Linked DNA regions of Homo sapiens: region 2 is linked to region 1. Evidence: promoter capture Hi-C in 16 types of primary human blood cells and fetal thymus (Javierre and others, 2016). All regions are on one chromosome and are shown on one strand. Each heading gives the region's core, a stretch centred on a gene start or on the middle of the fragment in contact. The rest is flanking DNA. Distances are from core to core; before and after follow the strand shown.

What was found. Contacts are between HindIII fragments. The CHiCAGO score rates a contact against its expected background, and 5 or more counts as called.
Region 2: a fragment that was not itself captured here is called in contact with the fragment with the promoter of SAP130 in region 1 in 1 of 17 cell types (total CD4 T cells); the score reaches 6.3 in total CD4 T cells.

Annotation. Positions count from the first base shown.
Region 1 is chr2:128,025,965-128,030,238 of GRCh38, reverse strand. SAP130 (Sin3A associated protein 130) reads left to right here and starts at 2,180. Exons shown (of 21, transcript NM_001330301.2): 1 at 2,180-2,299; 2 at 3,941-4,058. The coding sequence starts at 3,947. RefSeq lists silencers at 1,493-1,642, 1,893-2,412, 2,513-2,852, 2,913-3,202. The HindIII fragment of the contact is 20,582 bases long and covers 1-4,274 here.
Region 2 is chr2:127,503,957-127,508,230 of GRCh38, reverse strand. It overlaps IWS1 (interacts with SUPT6H, CTD assembly factor 1), which reads left to right. Exons shown (of 14, transcript NM_017969.3): 3 at 2,479-3,547. Among named protein-coding and RNA genes, the nearest start is that of IWS1, 20 kb to the left of the region's middle. The HindIII fragment of the contact is 2,101 bases long and covers 1,499-3,599 here.

The sequences.
Region 1 (4,274 bases), core at 931-3,430:
ACTTTGAGGGGCTTGTTAAGACTTCTGTGTGGATTGGCCCATCAGGCGGAAATATAGGTATACAACTCGGAGAGGTCACCTATGCATAGGTAACATTTTCAAAGATATTTGAGGCTGGGTGTAGTGGCTCATGCCTATAATGCCAGCACATTGGGAGGCTGAGGTGGGCAGATCGCTTAAGCCCAGGAGTTCAAGACCAGCCTGGGCATATGGTGGAACCCTGTCTCTATTCAAAAAAAAAAAAATATATATATACACACACACACACACACACACACACACACGTATATATACATATATATACATATATACATATATATACATACAACTCCATCTCAAAAATATATATTATATATATAAAATATATGTATTCATATATAAATATATATTTTTGAGACAGAGTTTCGCTCTTGTTGCCCAGGCTGGAGTGCAATGGCTTGATCTGGGCTCACAGCAACTTCTGCCTCCCGGGTTCAAGCAATTTTCCTGCCTTAGCCTCCTGAGTAGCTGGGATTACAGGAATTTGCCACCATTCCCGGCTAATTTTGTATCTTTAGTAGAGATGGGGTCTTTCCCATGTTGGTCAGGCTGGTCTCGAACTCCTGACCTCAGGTGATTCGCCTGCCTCGGCCTCCCAAAGTGCTGGGATTACAGGCATGAGCCACGTGCCTGGCATATATATATGTTTAGTGGGGTGTGGTGGCATGCGCCTGCAGTCCTGGCTACTCAGGAGGCTGAGGCAATAAGTTAGTTGAGACAAGGAAGTCGAGGCTGCAATGAGCTGTGATCACGCCACTGGACTTCAGCTTGGGCTGAACTGAGAACCTGTCTCAAAAAAACAAAAAACAAAAAGGATGACATTTGAAACTGTGGAAATACATTAAACCATTTAGGAAGGCAGTATAGCATTAGCGTGTTGGAGCCCTGAAGAATGCTGTATTTATGAGAAAGAGGAGGTATAATGGAGCTTGACATAGGAGTAGAAGCAGGAGACAGCCTGGTTCTAGAGGCCAAGGGAAGACATGAGGAGGAATTACTACTGGTCAGTAAGCTAAACAAGATGAGATCTAAGTGAGGACCGATGGGTTTGAAGTTGAGTAGGTGTTGGCAACTTTTGGGGAGCAGTCTGAGAAGAGTGGCAACTCCAAAAGGGATAAGGACTGCCTAGGCAGAGAGGAGGCTGAAGTCTATCACAGGAGTCACTCTTTAGAAGTTTGAGAATGAAGGCATGAAGGTGGAAAAGGAAAGTGGCTTGAAGAGGAGGAGTATCTGAGACTCATCCCTGGGCTATAGCCAGGAGCTACTCTCTTCTAACCAAGCAGTTGTCTTACACAGCTGTGCATGATAGGAAGAGGGGGGTTTGAGCCCCATTTATTTCCTAACTAATCACAAAACTCCAGGCCTAAATTACCATCTGGTAAGGGAAGAGGGAGACTTAATCTCTTATCAGACACAAATGTGGCCTCAAAAGATATGGCTAAGTCTTCTACAGGTGCATAAACTCCAACCCTGAACCCCAAGCAAAATGACAAAATAAAACTGCCCCCTTCAGCTCCTTTATAATCCGGAAAGCGCGCGCAGGTGCGCCCCGGCCGCCCAGAGCCCTGCGCCCTGCCGGCCTGCTTTCACAGAGCCGCGCCCGCGCTGCGCCTGGCGGCTCCCGCCGCGCGTAGGCTGTGCCGACCGCGGTTCCCGGTGGGGACACCGAGTCCCACTCGCGGCATAGGGAGGCGGGCACCGTCACGACACTGGCCCGGCCCGCGGATCCCTTGGCCGCCGCAGTTGGCCTCCATTACCCTTTCCCGCGCCGCGCCTCCCCGCGGGGAAAATGAAACCCAGTGCCCTCAGGTTAAGGCATAGGGTGGGATCCACTGTCTTCTCACTTAGCCAAGAGAAAAGGCAGAACCGACTTCAGACAGCAAAGGGGTGTGTTGCCCTGGCCGGGTCGCCTGCGGCCCCGCCCCGGCGCTCTCCACCTCCTTCGCGGCCCGCCCTCCTGACTCCGGCGACTACATTTCCCACAGGACGCCGCGGCTCAGAGGGGCGGGCCCGTCCGCTCTCCCGCTCACGACCACCGGCGACTGGCTGACTCGGCAGGGGGCGGGGCCTGCGCCAGCCAATAGACGGGAGGCTCGTTACGGCGGCGGAAGCAGCGGCGCTGGAGTGAGGGGTGGGGGGCAGAGTGCTAGCTCCCCGGCGGTGGCTGCGGGTCCGGAGCCTGGGGACGTCGGCCCCACAGACGGAGAGCGCGCGGGAGCGAGCTCAAGGCGGCGCGGCGGCCACTGGGCGCAGCACCCAGGTAATGGCGGGACGGGCGCCCGGGAGGGAAGGGGAGGAGACGAGGGGGCGGGGCGGCTGAGCCGGGCTGCAGCGTCCGTCCCGTTGCGCGTCCCCGGGGAAGGGCAGAGGATCCTCGTCTCCTGCGGCTCGGACCGCGGCTCTTTCGCGAGCTGGTCACGGCGGTTGGGCCGGCGACAGGGGCTGGGTGTCCTGTGGCGAGGAAGGGAGAGGCACCGGGAGGGGTGGGCTGACCCGGGCGTGGGGGCGTGGCGGACGTGGGCCTTGGCGGGGAAGCAGAGCGGCCGGGGGAGCGCGGGCGGGCGGGCGGGCGGGCGGCCGGCCCAGGGAGTTTGGCTCCTGGAGCAGTTTAAAGTGACTCTCCACATCCGGGCCCTGCGCCCGCCGCTTTCAGACCCTGGCTGAGGCGGGGCCTCCCCGCTCCCCGCCCCCTTCGCCGGGGGCGCCTGTCTTCCTCTGCCATTGGCTCAGCCTCGAGGGGTTTGGGCTGCCCCGGCCAGGCTCGCGCCTGATTGGCTGGCAGTCGGCGGGAGGGTGGGGCGGGCTCTGAACGTGCAGGTCGCTGTGGATTGGTCCTGGGCCTCCACTGACGCGTCGGGCGTGGGGCCAATGGGCGGGCGGGGGAGGCAGGGGCAGGTTCGGGGGAAGAGGACTGCGAGCACAGCGGCGGCCGGGTGGCGGGGGTGAGTGGGGCCAGCGGGGCTGGACAGCAGCGGGCCCCGGGCGCCGCCGCCGCGATCCCTCCCCGCGCCCGCCGAGCACATCGCCGCCGCCGAGATGGGCCCTCCGCGGCACCCCCAGGCCGGCGAGATAGAAGCGGGCGGTGCGGGCGGCGGGCGGCGGCTACAGGTAAAGAGGCACAGTGCTCGTCTTGTGGTCGGGTCCCCAGATCGCCCGTCCGCACCCCCACCCCGGAGACGGGGGTCTCACACTCCGAGGTGTCTGGAAACCGGCGTCCTCCGGTCTCAGCGGGGGCTTCGCGGTGGGGTGGGGTTGCGGGCGAATCGGGAGATCGCTTGGCTCCTGAGGGAAAAGTGGGGGGCGATTTTAGGGAAGATGGAGAAGGTGTAGGGTCCTCTGGCTCTGTGAGGGGATCTGTGGAAGAGAAGGAAAAGGAAATCCGTAAATGGAGGCCTTTGCCGAAAAGCATTGGAGAATTCCTTTTGCATCGGGTCTGGATGTAAGATATCGGATCTTTTCTTAGGGCTGGATATCTTCCTCCGAATGTTCCTATGACATACTAATCACAGTTCTGTTCACCTTGGTGTGAGATTTGAGTGTTTCAAAGAGACATGCCATTTTCCATAAAACTTTACACAGAGAAATACACATGCATTGTGGTAATACCTGTCATGTGACTCTTGTACAGGATTCAATGGTGATTTTTTTAGCATAGCAATCCACAAGTATTTATGGAGGGTCATAGTACCCGCCAGCTCCGTATAAACAATATTTGTAGAAAACTTAGGTAGTTTAGATAATGTCTGCATTTATATTGATCCCAAGTTATTGTTTTTAAATAAATGATGCAGCATTTGCTTTTCCAAGGGACTATCTCATAGGTACTAAAGATGCTTTAATTTCTCAGTATTGATTCAGATCTCAGAATCTAGTAATAACCATATAACTGTATGTACTACAGGTGGAAATGAGTTCTCAACAGTTTCCTCGGTTAGGAGCCCCTTCTACCGGGCTGAGCCAGGCCCCTTCTCAGATTGCAAACAGTGGTTCTGCTGGATTGATAAACCCAGCTGCTACAGGTGAGATATGTAATATTCTAATATATTTTTTCCTACTTTAAGAATATTACCAGTTTTCTAACTTAAAAATTAGCAGATTCTTCTAGGATTTTAGTAAATTCTTGTTTCTTGAATTTGAAGAAAGGGTATATTACTATTCTAATTTAAACAAGGCTTTTTTTCCTTCCTGTTTTAACCACTTCATTCACATAGAGTACACATGCAACTTATAGCAAA
Region 2 (4,274 bases), core at 1,300-3,799, 520 kb after region 1:
CAGCTCTTAAGGTCAGGCCCTGTGACATACTCCGCCTGGATTCTTGGTGTCTTGCACGTAGTAGACATGAAATACATTCTTGTTGGATTAATTTTTCCTCACCTTATGTTATTCCCACTTAAGGCCTTTATTACTCATTTAACAAATACACGTTGAGTATCCCTTATCCAAAATGCTTCAAATCAGAAGTGTTTTGGATTTAGAATTTTTTCGAGTTTTGGAATATTTACTTATACAGAGTGAGCTATTTTGGCGATGGAACCCAAGTCTAAACACGAAATTCATGTGTCTTATATACATAGCTGGAAGGTAATTTTACACATTATTTTAAATAATTTTTCACATGAAACAAAGTTTGTGTTGGGTGCTTATGTGTGGAATTTTCCACTTGTGGTGTCATGTCAGTGCTCAAGAAGTTTCAGATTTTGGAGTTGTCTGAATTTTCAGATTAGGAATGCTCGAACTCTACCTAGTGTGTGTATGTTCTGGAGACCATTCTGCACTCTGAGGATACCTCAGGAAAACAAACCAAAATATGTCTGCCTTCCTAGAGCTTACAATCTAGATAGTTAAATTTTCCATCTGCATTCTTTTAAATTATGAAGTGTGGCTAAAGTAAACTTTAGGCAACATACAGACTATTGTACGGTAATTGTAAGATTCTATGATATCTCTCAAGTCCTAATACCGTTTTAATAGATAAGTGCCTGTTTCAGTGGGATAATAGAGCTTGTGACTGACAAGGAATCTAATACAGTACTGTGTTGAGTGCCCAGTGAGAACTCAAGAAAAATGTATTTAGGAATTTTGAAAAGTGTATGATTTTGGAAACTTACCTGAATGTGCTATATTTCAGTGACTGTGTATAGCAATGACTCTTTGCAATGCTGTGCTGTCATAATGGTGATAAAATATTTAAAAACTCTTCAAACATTGGCTTTGTAGGCTATTTTATAATTTTTCATATTCTTTTTGAATTTGTAGACACAGCATACTTGGGTTAGTAAAAGTTTGGGTTTTATGAGAACATTTTCAAGCCATTTATCTTGTCATTGACAAGAATAATCTTGTCACTTAACTGTTTCATAGCATGATGTTGGGCATATATATTATTAAAGGCTCTTTGGTCCTTGAAAATTGGTCTGTGGTAGGTTCACATAGCTTAAGTCATATATCTAACAAGAAATATTTGGCTCAGTAAATTTTTAAGAGGGTATACTCAAACACGGAAATACTTTCACTTTTTAAGCTAGAATATTATTGCCATGTTATTTAAAGTTGAGCTACCAGATGGGAGAAAAAATTCACCGGATCCTAAAATACTTGTTAGTATTTTGGCATGTTTAATTTTGTATATTTTTCTCTGCATTTTAAAGCCATAGCTATAATATGCACATATCAAGTTTGTACCCCAGGGCATGTTTTCAGAGTAATTATTTCAAGTAACATTATGTGTTGGTATAGTTAGATGAATCATGTTCTCCCTAAAACTTAAGCTTTCTTGTTTCTAGGGTTACTAGACACAGGACCGTGACTACTGTAAGCCTCAATTTTGTTATCATGAGAAGTACCATTATGAGGAGTAAATGAACTAACAGGAGAGAGCCTGTTGTGGTATTGGCTCTTAGTGGGTACTTAGGAAATGTTAACTTCTCCTTTCTTTGTTTGCTTAAATTATCTTGGGAGAAGGTGCCCATATGTTATTTGACCCTTTAAATAAAATTAAATTTTATAGTTCTTTTCCCTTAAATAATCTTAACCTTATAAAACCCAAGAATGTTCCTGTGTAAAAGAACTTGGTTACATGTTTGCTTGTATTTCTTTGAAAAATAGAGTTATTTATTTTTATTTATTTATTTTTATTTTTGACAGTCTCACTCTGTCACCCAGGCTGGAGTGCGATGGTGCAATCTCAGCTCACTGCAACCTCCGCCTCCCAGGTTCAAGTGATTCTCCTGCCTCAGCCTCCCTAGTAGCTGGGATTACAGGTGTCCACCACCACGCCCAGCTAATTTTTGTATTTTTAATAGAGACAGGGTTTCACCATGTTGGCCGGGCTGGTCTCGAACTCCTGACCTCAGGTGATCCACCACCTCGGCCTCCCAAAAGGTGTGAGCCACCTTGTCCAGCCTAGAGTTATATTTTTACAAAACAGAAGTATGTATGAGAAAATTCGCCTTTTAAAAAAGAAAAAATCTAGCTCTTCACGGTCAGTTTTCTGTAGTAATCTGAGGGCATGCTTTACAAATCTGTTTTGATGAAGGCTGGTTATATTTCCCCATTTGGGGATCCAAATAAAACCATTTCACTGATTGGCTTTCTGTGGGGGTGTTTCTATATGGGTATAGGACAAGAATTCTCCATTTAGGTGCACATAATCCTGTATTTTAAAAAAATCACAGAAAAAATTTAATGTTTTATTATTAATGGTTTTTTTTTTTTTGCACTTTCCTAATTTTTTCTCACTTTATTTTTCAGAATGAAACTAGTGATCGAGAAGATGGCCTCCCCAAAGGACATCATGTGACAGACTCTGAGAACGATGAGCCCTTAAATCTTAATGCTAGTGACTCTGAAAGTGAGGAGCTTCACAGGCAAAAGGACAGCGACTCTGAATCTGAGGAACGTGCAGAGCCTCCTGCAAGCGATTCTGAAAATGAGGATGTCAATCAGCATGGGAGCGACTCTGAGAGTGAAGAGACCAGGAAATTACCTGGTAGTGACTCTGAAAATGAGGAACTTCTTAATGGGCATGCAAGTGACTCAGAAAACGAAGATGTTGGGAAGCATCCCGCCAGTGATTCTGAGATTGAGGAGCTCCAGAAGAGTCCTGCTAGTGACTCTGAAACAGAAGATGCTCTAAAACCTCAAATCAGTGACTCTGAGAGTGAGGAACCCCCAAGGCACCAAGCCAGTGACTCCGAAAATGAGGAGCCTCCCAAACCTCGAATGAGTGATTCTGAAAGTGAGGAGCTTCCTAAACCTCAGGTCAGTGATTCAGAAAGTGAGGAACCCCCAAGGCACCAGGCCAGTGACTCTGAAAATGAGGAGCTTCCCAAACCTCGTATCAGTGACTCAGAAAGTGAGGACCCTCCGAGGCACCAGGCCAGTGACTCAGAAAATGAAGAGCTTCCCAAACCCCGAATCAGTGATTCGGAAAGTGAGGATCCCCCAAGGAACCAGGCCAGTGATTCGGAAAATGAGGAGCTACCCAAACCCCGAGTCAGTGACTCTGAGAGTGAGGGGCCTCAGAAGGGGCCTGCCAGTGACTCAGAAACTGAGGATGCGTCCAGACACAAACAGAAGCCAGAGTCAGATGATGACAGCGACAGGGAGAATAAGGGAGAGGATACAGAAATGCAGAATGACTCCTTCCATTCAGACAGCCATATGGACAGAAAAAAGTTTCACAGTTCTGATAGTGAGGAGGAAGAACACAAAAAGCAAAAAATGGACAGTGATGAAGATGAAAAAGAGGGTGAGGAGGAGAAAGTAGCGAAGAGAAAAGCTGCTGTGCTTTCTGATAGTGAAGATGAAGAGAAAGCATGTAAGGAGTTACCTTGGGCTGTTTATCAATGGCTTTATTCATTGTCTAAGCTTGTAACTGTGGAACATTGTATCCTCTTGGTATGTCAGATCTGTGTTCTGTTATTCAGCTTAATATTCTAAAATATCAGTAGGACACTCATTTCCCCTGGTTATCATTAGCTAAGCTTAATAGTAAGTTTCCTTGGAGTTCTATTAGCACATATTAATCTCTGACTGCCTCAAAGTGATAAACCACATGTCAATAGGAATATAAAATACTGTTTTTTTTTTTTAAAACTGGAAGAGGTAATGTTTCAAAGAAATACGTTTACATAAAAACCCCTAACTGTATTAATTGTTAGCTGTGGGTCTCTTTGACACTTAGTTCACTAGATCCCATCCAAACAGTAACAGCTCCCACAGGTACATCTCTTCATTTGTTAAACATTGTTGAATATTCAGATACAGGGAAGCTTTGAGAGGATTCTATTTAGAGACACCATCTCTCTCCAGAGTGTTTCAGTCTCTGCTATCTAAGACTCCATTTGCACAGATAGTATTACTTGTCTACTTTTTTATGAAACTTATCTTTTTTGGAAAAGACATATTTCATTATAACCTCACAGTTCTTATAGGAGAAGGAAAAGGTACCAGACATGCTGTCAATTTGTTAAGGGAGATGAGAAATTTCAAACTGACCAGCAATGATAGAGGAACATGGAGACTATTCCTAGAAAGAAATATGT